Regions from separate parts of the Homo sapiens genome. Here region 2 is linked to region 1. Evidence: promoter capture Hi-C in 16 types of primary human blood cells and fetal thymus (Javierre and others, 2016). All regions are on one chromosome and are shown on one strand. Each heading gives the region's core, a stretch centred on a gene start or on the middle of the fragment in contact. The rest is flanking DNA. Distances are from core to core; before and after follow the strand shown.

Region 1 (5,810 bases), core at 1,478-3,977:
ATATAGGGAGACCCTGTCTCTATAAAAAAATTAAAAAAAAAAAAAAGACAACTTGGATGCTTTGGGCCCTGGAGTGAATGTATTTTAGTTCCTTCCCAAGGGTCATGCAACGGATGCGGTAGGTGAGTGAAACTGAGATTAAAAATTGCTTGTATTCTCAAGGCTAAATAAGACTAGGGAAAAAAGTTGCTTTTATAAGTGGTCTTAATACGAGGTGTGGGTGAGTGAGTCTCTGTGTGTTTTCAGGGTAATAGAAGAAGCATTTTAAGAACACAGATTGGCCGGGTACGGTGGCTCATGCCTGTAATCCCAGCACTTTGGGAGGCCGAGGCGGGCAGATCACAGTCAGGAGTTCGAAACAAGCCTGGCCAACATGGTGAAACCCCATCTGTACTAAAAATACAAAAATTAGCTGGGTATGGTGGCATGTGCCTGTAATCCCAGCTACTCTGGAGGCTGAGGCAGGAGACTTGCTTAAACCTGGGAGGCGGAGGTTGCAGTGAGCTGAGATCGCACCACTGCGCTCCAGCCTGGGCGACAAAAGTGAGACTCCATCTCGGGGGAAAAAAAAAAAAAAGCACAGATTAGGCAGTACTTCATTGTGGGTTATTGTGAGTGCATTTTGTAGGTGCAGACATGCTGCTGTGATATGGGGAGGCCTGGCATTCTCAGCCTCCACGGAGCTGTTTGGTTTTTCACTTTAGCTAACTTTCCATTTCTCTCTTTTCTGTTTTCTTTTCCAGGCTGAAAAGTCTTCCACTAAGAAGGCAGTAATTGAATGCTGCCCTGGCTCGTCCTAGAATCATTTCTCCTCCATGATGGAAGCCCAGTGATTGTTCAGTTAACGCATTGTACAGAGTGTATTTATATGTAAATTCCTGCTGTAAAATAATTTTTAAAACCTTGACATTTCAAAGACTGCCTTGAAAGGTCGCAGAAATTGATTTCTATTTTTAATTTCAGTTAGTATCGGGGGAAAAAAATCCAGACTGAACAGTTTAATTAAAGTGGAATTTTTCTATTTTCTTCTTGATTTTTAAAAAATTTCCTGGGACGTTAAAAAAGAAGTTAAAAGTGAAGGCTTCTCTCTGGTTTTGTGATGAAGACAGCCTGGACTCACTGAAGGACAAGCGTGTGAGAAGGGGCGGTTGCGGCCCCTCCTGCCGTTTTTTGGGAGTGAAGCTCTTCCCTCTCTGGGTGGCTGGGTTACTGTTGGTGCCCAGGAAGCCCCATGGGAGGGCAGAGCCAGGGCCTGGCAGGGGGCCTCAGCCTCTCAGGGTAGATGTCACTAAAGTGTCTGAGACAGGCAGGGAAACCAGGCAGGAGAATGTGCACCCACAGCCTGGGTTACACGGCTGCAGCTCCCTGCTCTGAGGCCACCTCATGTGTACCAAGGAGACCTTTTTGAAAAATAAAGTGCAGACCAGGTGTGATGGCTAATGCCTGTAATCCCAGAGCTTTGGGAGGCCGAGGCGGGAGGATTGCTTGAGCCCAGGAATTCCAGACCAGCCTGGGCCACATAGAGACCCCTGTCTCCACAAAAAATAAAGTATTGAGCATTTGTATTTTACATTATGAAAGTAGCATCATAGATCACAACAATTTTAAAAGCAGAAAGAAGGAAGAGGCCGGGTGCGGTGGCCCATGCTTGTAATCCCAGCACTTTGGGAGGCCGAGGCCAGCGGATCACTTGAGGCCAGGAGTTCAAAAACAGCCTGGCCAACATGGCGAAACCTTGTCTCTACTAAAAATACAAAAAAATTAGCCAGGTCTGGTGAGCATACACCTGTAATCCCAGCTGTGTGGGAGGCTGAGGCACGAGAATCCTTTGAACCCTGGAGGTGGAGGTTGCAGTGAGCCGAAATTGCGCTACTGCAATCCAGCCTGGGTGACAGACTCTTGTCTCCACCAAAAAAAAAAAAAAAAAAAAAGAAGGAAGAAAATCACTTTTAGTTTTATCATCCAAAGATGACACCCTTCTTCAATATTTTGAATAATTCCACCCTGTCCTTTTCTAGCTATGGGGCTGTTATCTGACTGGTGGTAGCATTTTATTCCCTGTCACTGTTGTTGGGGTTGTGACAGATATTTCCCTCATCTATTATAAATGTTGTAAACCCACCCCTAATAACTGCATCTTATTTCATGCAGGGGCTACCCCATAACTTACTGACCTTTTCTGTTTTGTCATGAAGTGGGTTGGCCAGGAGCTGTACCCAGGCAGAGGACATGAAGAAATTGCCCTGTGACAGGAGCCAGGGAAACCACAGCGGAGGGCTGGAGGCTGGGGTGCTGGTTTTGCTGGCTCGGCCTGGTTCCCAGAATGCAAAGCCCATTTTTCTTTTTTTTGCAACCTCCACCTCCTGGGTTCAAGCCATTCCCCTGCCTCAGCCTCCCATGTAGCTGGAACTACAGGCGCACGCCCCCATGCCTGGCTAATTTTTGTTATTATTTTTTTTAAGTAAAGATGGGGTTTCACTAAACCTGTTGGCCAGGCTGGTCTCCAACTCCTGACCTCAGGTAATCCGCCCGCCTCGGCCTCCCAAAGTGCCGGGATTACAGGCGTGAGCCACCGCGCCCGGCTGCAAAGCCCATTTTTCTATAGGTAACCTGTGCTGCGCGGGGTGGCACTAGTTTTCACCCAGCGGGCGAGGAGGCAGCGAAGTCGCGGGCCCAGCGTAGCGCGCGCCTCCGAAGGGCTTGGTGCGGGCGCGGGCGCGGGCGCGCGGCGCCACCGTTCCCATCCAGGCTTGTCGGCGGCCACCGGCGGACCGGGCTTCGAGATGGCCTCCCCGCCGCGGTGCTCCCCGACAGCCCATGACAGGGAATGCAAGTTGCCGCCACCCTCCGCCCCCGCCAGCGAGTATTGTCCCGGCAAGCTGTCCTGGGGGACCATGGCGAGGGCCTTAGGCCGCTTCAAGCTGTCGATCCCGCACACGCACCTGCTGGCCACCCTCGACCCCCTGGCCTTGGACAGGGAACCACCACCGCATCTGTTGCCTGAGAAGCACCAGGTGCCGGAGAAATTGATCTGGGGCGACCAGGACCCTCTCTCCAAGGTCAGAACCGCCGCTGGGGTGAGGGGGCACTGGCCTGTTCCCCACACGGGAGGAAGGCGCTCGAGCTGTCGGGGGACCCATGGAAAACCCACCTGGCTTCACCAGGACCCCCAGCGAGGCCCTAGGCCCATTTCCCCATCTGTGGTACATCTGTGGGCAAAGGTCAGACCCACCTGAGCAGGGCGTGCTGGGGATGCCGGCGGGGGCTCCCCGCACTGCCACCTGCTGGGGAACCAGGACTCTTCGCTGGGAGGAGGCTCTGCCCCACCATGTGACCCCATCTAGACCTTGGAGTCTCCGTAGGTAGGCCCACCCACAGTGATGCTCCTAATTGCAGCCCAAGGGTCGGTGGCTCAGCTCTCCCCGTCCAGGAGATACAGTTAGCGTCAGAAGAAACGGGAAACTCAGAATAATAATAACAACAATGAATTGGGCCAGGCAAGGTGGCTCACACCTGTAATCCCAGCCCTTTGGGAGGCCCAGGTGGGAGGATCACTTGAGCCCAGGAGTTTGAGACCAGCCTGGGCAACATAGTGAGAGGTCGTCTCTACAAGAAATAAACTTAGCCCAGTGTGATGGGGCGCACCTGTGGTCCCAGCCACTTGAAAGGCTGAGGCAAGAGGATCCCTTGAACCCAGGAGTTTAAGGCTGCAGTGAGCTATGATTGTGCCACTGCACTCCAGCCTGGGCAACAGAGCGAGACTGTCTCCAGAATAAATAAATAAATAAATAAATAAATAAATAAATAAATATAGAGAGAGAGAGAGAAAGAAAGAAAGAAAAAGAAAAAGAAAGAAAGAAGGAGAAAGAAAGAAAAACTGGCTGGGTGCAGTGGCTCATGTCTGTAATCCCAGCACTTTGGGAAGCCGAGATGAGCAGATCACTTGAGGTCAAGGGTTCGAGACCAGCCTGGCTAACATGGTGAAACCCTTTCTCTACTAAAAATGCAAAAATTAGCCAGGCATGGTGGTGCGTGCCTGTAATCCCAGCTACTCAGGAGGCTGAGGCAGCAAGATCATTTGAACCCGGGAGGCAGAGGTTGCAGTGAGCTGAGATCATCTCACTCCATCTCAAAAACAAAACAAAACAAAAACCCAATAAAGAACATTCTCAATAAGTAGCGTTTCATGCTTGGCCTTGATTTATTGCACTCACATGCAGATGTCAGAGTGTGTTTTTAATAATTTCCTCGAAACCTCTGCCTGGCTTCCCAGCATGTTTAAGATGAAGTCTGGCGATCTGCCTGTGGCCTTCCAGGCCATTTCAAATCTGGCACCTCTCCATGTTCTCCTCCCCCATCCCCCTGTCTTGCTGACCTACAAGCAGGTCTGGCCTCAGGGATCTTGGCGGTTCCCTGCCCCCACGGTATTGCGCTCTTGGGGAGGCCCTCCCTGACCGCCCGTCTAAAGTAGCCAGGGCCACTGTCTCCTCCGTGCCTCATGCCATGGTCTGACATCCCCGTTCCGTCCTCAAGGTGTCCTCTGGCTGCCAGCAACTGGCCCCTCGAGGTTAGGGACTTTGCTCCTAGGTGGCTGCTGAGCTGCAGCATCAGGTCCAGGCCCCATGGGGGAGGAGGCTCTTGAGGTTTATTTGTGGAATATGTGAATGAACGCTACGCATAGAAGAACCGTTTTGTTTTTGCTCTGTCCTCTGCATGAGCTTTGTCAGCACCTCTGAAATGTACTCATGTGTTGGGGACTTCTCTCTGCAGCCCCTGGGACCCCTTTACCTAGTGGATCCCAAGGGACTGTGTGCAGAAAAAAACCTGAAACGAGAGCCCCAGAAAAGCCTGTGGTGGGGGTAGCGGAATGGTTCCCCCCTCTTGCTAATGTTTTTCCATGATGGAGTTCTAGGTTTTTTGTTTTCCTATTTTTTAAATTAAATTATATATTTTTTAAATTATTAATTTTAATTTTGATTTTTTTTGTAGAGAGGGGGAGTCTCGCCATGTTGCCCAGGCTGGTCTTAAACTCCTGGCCTCAAGCAATCCTCACTCCTGGGCCTCCCAAAGCACTGGAATTGCATGCGTGAGCCACTGCACCCAGCCAATTTAATTTCAATTTTTAATGATAGTTGGGTTTTCCTAATGAGAGAGATAACCCAAACCCTGCAGGGGCGGCAGGGGCTGGGGTCGCCAGAGGCGGGGGCGGTGCGGGAGGGCCGCGCAGGTCATGTCCCGGGGACTGGGGCCGCTCCTGGGGTAGGGAGCCAACCCTGCACGCGCGGCCCCGGCCTGGCCCGACGGGGTTAGCGAACTCCCCCGGAGAAAAGCCCGGTCCCAGCTCTCCACGCTCCCTGGCAACGGAGCCCGCGTTCCAGTGTCCTCGTGTCCCCGAGCCCCCTAGAGGCGGGGTATCATCTCATCCCCTGCATCTCCACCTGCACGTCCCCGACACCCCCCCCCCCGCCCCGCATCACCTGCAACCGGAAGGCCACCGCCGCCCTGAACCGTCGCATCCCCTCACCCCTGTCCTCCTGCCAACTCAGCCCAGCACCCTGACACTGCCTTCCAGGCCACACCCCTGGTCTTGCCTCCAACATTTCCCCCACCCCCACACTTCCGCAGCTCAACCTGGGACGTGTCGCCATGCGCGAGCTGGGGTGGGTGGGTGGGGGGGGTGACATCTTCAGGCTTCCCTGCTCTGTCCTCTTTTTTTCCCCCCAGTTTTACTGAGATATAATTCACGTACCATATAATTTAACCATAGAAGCTGTAGTGGTTTCTAGGGTATTCAGAGTACTGTACTCCCC
Region 2 (5,810 bases), core at 2,443-4,942, 230 kb after region 1:
GTCTTGCAGCATCTTTACCGTAATATATCTGGATGTGGATCTCTTTGTTTGGCATACTTGGAATTTGTTGAGCTTCTTGGCTGTGTAGATTAATGTTTTTCATCAAATATGAGAAGTTTCAACCTTTGTTTCTTTGAGTACATTGATGCTTCTGCCTTTCCTCTTTACCTGCTAATTCTTCTGTGTGTATTTTGGTGCATATAATGGCATCTCACATCTTCCTGAGGCTTTGATAATTTTTCTTTCTGCTCTTCATTTTTTTAATTCCCTGTACTTATGATTGGATAATCTATATTGATCTAGCCTCAATTTCACTGATTTGCTCCGGCCAGCTCAAACCTGCTGTTGAATCTCTCTAGTGAAGTTTTAATTTTTTTAAATTTTGCTTTTCAATTCTAGAATTTCTATGGGTTTCTGTTTAAATAATTTTGTCTTTTTCTTGATGTTCTCTGTTTGATGATATGTTGTTATCATCCTTTCTTTTAGTTCTTTAAGCATGGTTTCCTTTAGTTCTTTAAGGATGTTTATAGTAGCTGCTTTGAAGGTTTTTATGCTATTTCACCATCTGGGCTCCCTCAATTTCATGTATTTTTAAGTATTTTTCTCCCTGGCCTGTCAAAGAATGAGAGGTATATTAAGGTATCCCACTAAAAATGTGTTTTGTACATTTTTTTCTTCAGGTTCCTAACTTGCATTTAAAAAATTTTGTTGATGTTAGTAGGTGTATAGTTTTCTATTATGGTATTATTAAATATTGAGCAGGTATAAATTAACATTCATAAAATAGGAGTTAAATATTAATGGCATAACAAATATCTGAGTTTCTACCCATTGCATTTGAGAAAACACATTATCACAAATTTTTTCCCTTTTTATTTTGAAAAATGAATTTGGAGGATTTATACTACCAGATGTCAAACCTTATTATTATGTTTACCATAGCATATTATTATGCTATCATAAAAGACTGTGATATTAGCACTAGTGTAGACAGACCATTGTAACAAAACAGAGAGTCTAGAAATAAATCCACACATATATGGCCACTTAATTTATAATTAAGGAGACAAATGCAGAGTGGTAGACTTGATGTATAGAAGCTCATATATTAATAGTAACCCCGTACGTGTTATACATGTTACAAATGTTTTCTCCCATTTGGTAGTTTATTCTTTAACCCTTTAACTTAAACCTCTACTTTTTTCTTAATAGCTGTAGAGTGTAATAACAAAGAAAAAAAACTCTTTTTTCTTTTGGTCACACAGAGTTTATTTATTTATTATTTTTATTTTATTTTTTTGAGACTGGGTCTCACTCTGTCACTCAGGCTGGAATTCATTGGTGGGATTACCGCTCACTACAGCCTCGACCTCCCCAGGGTCAGGTTATCCTCCCACCCCAGCCTTCTGAGTAGTGGGGACTACAGGCACACGCCACTATCCCTGGCTACTTTTTGTATTTTTTTGTATAGACAGGGTTTTACTATTTTGGCCAGGCTGTTCTTGAACTCCTGGGCTCAAGTGATCTGCCTGCCTTGGCCTCCCAAAGTGCTGGGATTACAGGCAGGAGCCACCGTGCCCGGCCTACTTTTTAATTTTAGGTGGTCAAATATGTTGCTTGTTCTTTTTTGGATCCTAGGTCTCATGAGATCATTACTAGAACTTTCTCTAACCCAAGTTTATAAAAATATTTCCCTCTAATGATACAAAAAGGGCTTTTTAAATACTTAGATCTTAATTTTCATTCAGAACTTATTTTCATGCACAATGCATGGTAGGTGTCTAACAACAGCAAATTGTCACTTTACCATTTATTGACTAAGCCTTTCTTCCCCCAGTAACTTAGAGGGCCAAATTTTTATCCTGTACATTCCCACATGTAACTGTCTGTGCTTTGGGGCTGTCTGTTCTGTTCCACTGGTTTATTTGCCAACTCTTGGGCCAATATCACATTCTTTTAATAAATATAACTTACTACTATATTTAGAGTTGTGCTAGAACAGTGTCTCTTCATAGTTTTTTTCCCCAAGCCTTTCAAATCCAGATGCACTGGCCTAGGCCAGGCAAAGCTCCTAAGTCAGATTCCAAGAAATATCTTTGATGGTAGTGTTCCTAGAAACAACCACACAAATACACTGGACATAATTCTATCTCCAGCCCCATGCTGCCCTGAAGTCTCACTTTTTCGTGGTCAGCTCTTTTTTTTTTTTTTTAGATGGAGTCTCACTTTTTCACCCAGGCTGGAGTGCAGTGGCATGATCTCTGCTCACTGCAAACTCCGCCTCCTGGGTTCAAATGGTTCTCCTGCCTCAGCCTCCCGAGTAGCTGGGATTACAGGTGCCTGCCACCACACTGGGATAAATTTTGTATTTTTAGTAGAGACAGGGTTTCACCAAGTTGGCCAGGCTGGTCTCGAACTCCTGACCTCAAGTGATCTGCTGGCCTCGGCCTGTCGAAGTCCTGGGATTACAGGTATAAGCCACCATGACTGGCCCAGGGTCAGCTCATTCTTTCTACTATTCTTCTTAGCTCTCATTTCACACTTAACTCTCTCTGTAAATCACCATCTCTCCATTTCCTCCTCCAGGATGAACTTTCCTTCTATTTTACAGAGCAAAACCCATGATATAGAAACCCCTTAACTTTCTAATGGCAAACCTAAAAACTTACACTTAGATCCATCTGTTTCTTTCCCTATTATTAAAATAAGAGTAGAGTCCTGCCCTCTCTCTTCCTCCTAAGCTAAAGTAAGCTCTATTGAGTGAGATCTGGTTTCCTCCCATACCCTTAGGATACAGCTCGGCTCTGTCCTCCCTGTCTGTGTTTAAACATGCCCGTCCCTCCCACTCGAACACACACATGTTCACGCACACATCTTTAGGCTCCAGATTCTCCTGCAGCCATCTTGCTATCTCCTCTCGTTCAAAGCTACACTTCTAGAAAAAGTTGTCTAACTCATTGTTTCTTCTCTCATTCATTTCTCAGCCTACTGCAAGGGCCGCTGGTCACTTCCTTACTGTTAAATCTTTACTAATATTCCTGTCTCCAGTCTTGCTCTCCTCTAAACTGTTTCTCACCATAGAAGCCAGAATAATCCTTTTAAGATGCAAATTTGGATATATGATTCCCCTCCTTAAAAGCTTTCATGACTTCTTATTGATCTCAAGATCCAGACTCCTTGACAAGGCCTCCGCCTCCAGTCTTCTCAATCCCATGAGCCCTTTCCAATCCTAAATCCTGGCCACACCAAGCCTTTCCCTGCCCCTGGCTTCCTCACTATGCGATCACCTGGTCTTTCATTCCGCACGTTTGCCTGGCTAGCTCCTACTCACCTTCAGTACTCCAGCAAGAAGACGCGAGTGACCACCCTACCACTCCTTCCCCCACCCCAAGACCACATGAAACACCCCTACTTTGTATTCTCCCGGCACCCAGCGCTTATTCCCACTACGTGGAACATTCCTTACACTGTTTACTTCTCTCTCTCTCCAACTAGATGGAAGACACTCTGACAAACGGGGTCATTTCTTAATTATTATTTAACTCCAACATTTAGCCAAGTGCCTATCGCACAGAAGATGGATTATGGCTATCCGAAATGAACGAATAGCTCCTCTATTAGCCACAGAACTCAGCATCACCTGTGACCTTTTGTTTTAACTAAAGCTATTCACTCATTCGTTCATCTTATTGCGGTAAAAACACATATCATAAAATGTACCATCTTAGCCATTTTTAAGTATACAGCTCAGTAGTGTTAAGTGTATTTACATTGTTGTGAAGCAGAACTCCAGAACGTTTTCATCTTGCGGAACTGAAACTCTGCACCCACTAAATGATTCCCCATCTCTCTCCTGCTCCCAGGCCCTGGTAACCCCCATTCTGCTGCCTCTACGAATTTGACTGTGTTAATACCTCCTATACTGAAATCATTTGGTATTTGTCCTTTTATGCCTGGCTTATTTTATTCAACGTTTATCCAGGTTGTGGCAAGTGATGGGATTTCCTTCCTTTTTAAGGCTGCATAGTATTCCATTGTGTGTATATACTATATTTTATCTGTTCACCTGTGAACATCCGTGAACATCATATTTTTACCTGTCTGTGACTTTTTATGATGATTTTCTATAGTATTTAGAATTTTGGATTTTTTGCAAGTTTCTGATTCCACAACATTCAAATATACTATTACAAAGAATACATGCAAATATATGCTTTCTATAAATACAAAGGGCTTTTTAAAATAGAAGCTTTTGTTACTATCATAAAGTTGTTCACACTTTTTGAAATAAGAAGCTCTTTTTGTTCAAATGTTTTATATTTTAACATATATTTCACTGTATCAGTCCTTTTTTTTTTCTCCACAAAAACACTTTTTATTTGAGGCAAAGAGAAGTCTTGCTGAAGGGATTACAGTTCCAAGCAGCCAAAACTCAACTGTTAGTGGCACTATTTTGACCTGGTAGATGTTGCTTCTCTTTGGTCAGAAAAGGGTATTCAGGTTGTACTTTCCCCAGTGGGGCAAAAAGGAGGGCAAAGCAAACTGGAAGAGACTTCTACTCTATTGACAGGGCTCTTCAGATCCAACATCAAGCTAGACATGCCCTTGCTGGCCACTCTACAGGTTGCTGTCCCACTGCTGAGTGACACAGGCCATGCTACATTTGCAAGGAAAAAAATGAGACAGGAAACACAGGTATAGGTCACTTAGGGATGAGCAGGCATCCACAGCTTCAAAACTCTTCATGGAAGGGGTAATCCTTGTGGGAGGCACAGCTCACCAAGGCACAGACTCTCCAATTCCTGTTGTAGCTGAGTAAGGCGGTCATATCCTGGCTGTTCAGTTCAAAGTCAAAAACCTTAAAGTTGTCAGCAATGAGTTCTGGTGTCACAGACTTGGGGATCACACCCAAATTCCTCTGCATGGGGAACCGGATCAGGACCTGGGCTGTAGTTTTATTGTGCTTGGCTGCAATCGCCTTGATCCTGGGATCCCTCAGGAGGGAAGGGTCCTCGGGGTTGACCCAGGGCCTGCTGGGAGTGCCAACGGGGCTATAGGCGGTCACCACGATGCCTTTGGACTGGCAGTACTGGATTAACTTCTCCTGAGTGAGGTAAGGGTGGCACTCAATCTGGTTAACCACAGGCTTATACTTTAAGCCAGGTTTGTTTAAGAGCCTCTCCACTTGGAGGTGGTTGAAGTTGGAGATGCCAATAGCTTTCATCAGCCATTCATCCACCAGCTCTTCCATGGCTGCCCATGTGTCCAGAATGTTGGTGTCACTGGGAACCACATTACCCAACTCATTCAATGGAAAAATTCCCTCCCAGGCTTAAAGCCAGTCGGCCAATGAATAAGGTAGAGGTCCAGGTAGTCCAGCTTCAGGCTGCTGAGGGTCTTCTGGCAGGCTCCCTTCACCAGGCCCTTCCCATGGTATGTGCACCACAGCTTACTAACGATGAAGAGCTCCTCACGCTTTACCACCTGCTCCCTGAGCTTCTCCTGAATGGCCACCCCCACCTCATTCTCATGCTAGTACACGTGGGCACAGTCAATGTGGCAGTACCCGACATTGATGGCCACATTCACGGCCTCAGTCACCCGGCCTGGAGGGGACTTCCAGGTGCCCAGCCCCAGGATGGGCATCTTGGTGCCATTGTTGAGCACAAGGTGGCTGGCCATGGCTGCTGCGCTCCCTGGAATTGTTTCATACTGTCTTGTGTGCCTTGGAAGACTTATCTCCTGTTCTCTGCCATGCTAACCAGTGCTATGTATAACCCTGCCTAGTACAGGGTGGTGAGGGAGGGGTG

What was found. The method cuts DNA at HindIII sites, captures the fragments that hold promoters and counts their contacts. A CHiCAGO score of 5 or more calls a contact.
Region 2: a contact is called between a fragment that was not itself captured here and the fragment with the promoter of WDR88 in region 1, in 1 of 17 cell types (neutrophils). The highest score is 5.6, in neutrophils.

What each region holds. Positions count from the first base shown.
Region 1 is chr19:33,129,387-33,135,196 of GRCh38, forward strand. WDR88 (WD repeat domain 88) reads left to right here and starts at 2,728. Exons shown (of 11, transcript NM_173479.4): 1 at 2,728-3,059. The coding sequence starts at 2,784. GPATCH1 (G-patch domain containing 1) reads left to right here. Exons shown (of 20, transcript NM_018025.3): 20 at 744-1,156. The coding sequence ends at 774. RefSeq lists enhancers at 2,565-2,734, 5,572-5,621 and a silencer at 5,372-5,491. The HindIII fragment of the contact is 21,697 bases long and covers 1-5,810 here.
Region 2 is chr19:33,355,765-33,361,574 of GRCh38, forward strand. It overlaps the pseudogene AKR1B1P7. Among named protein-coding and RNA genes, the nearest start is that of CEBPG, 15 kb to the right of the region's middle. The HindIII fragment of the contact is 1,110 bases long and covers 3,138-4,247 here.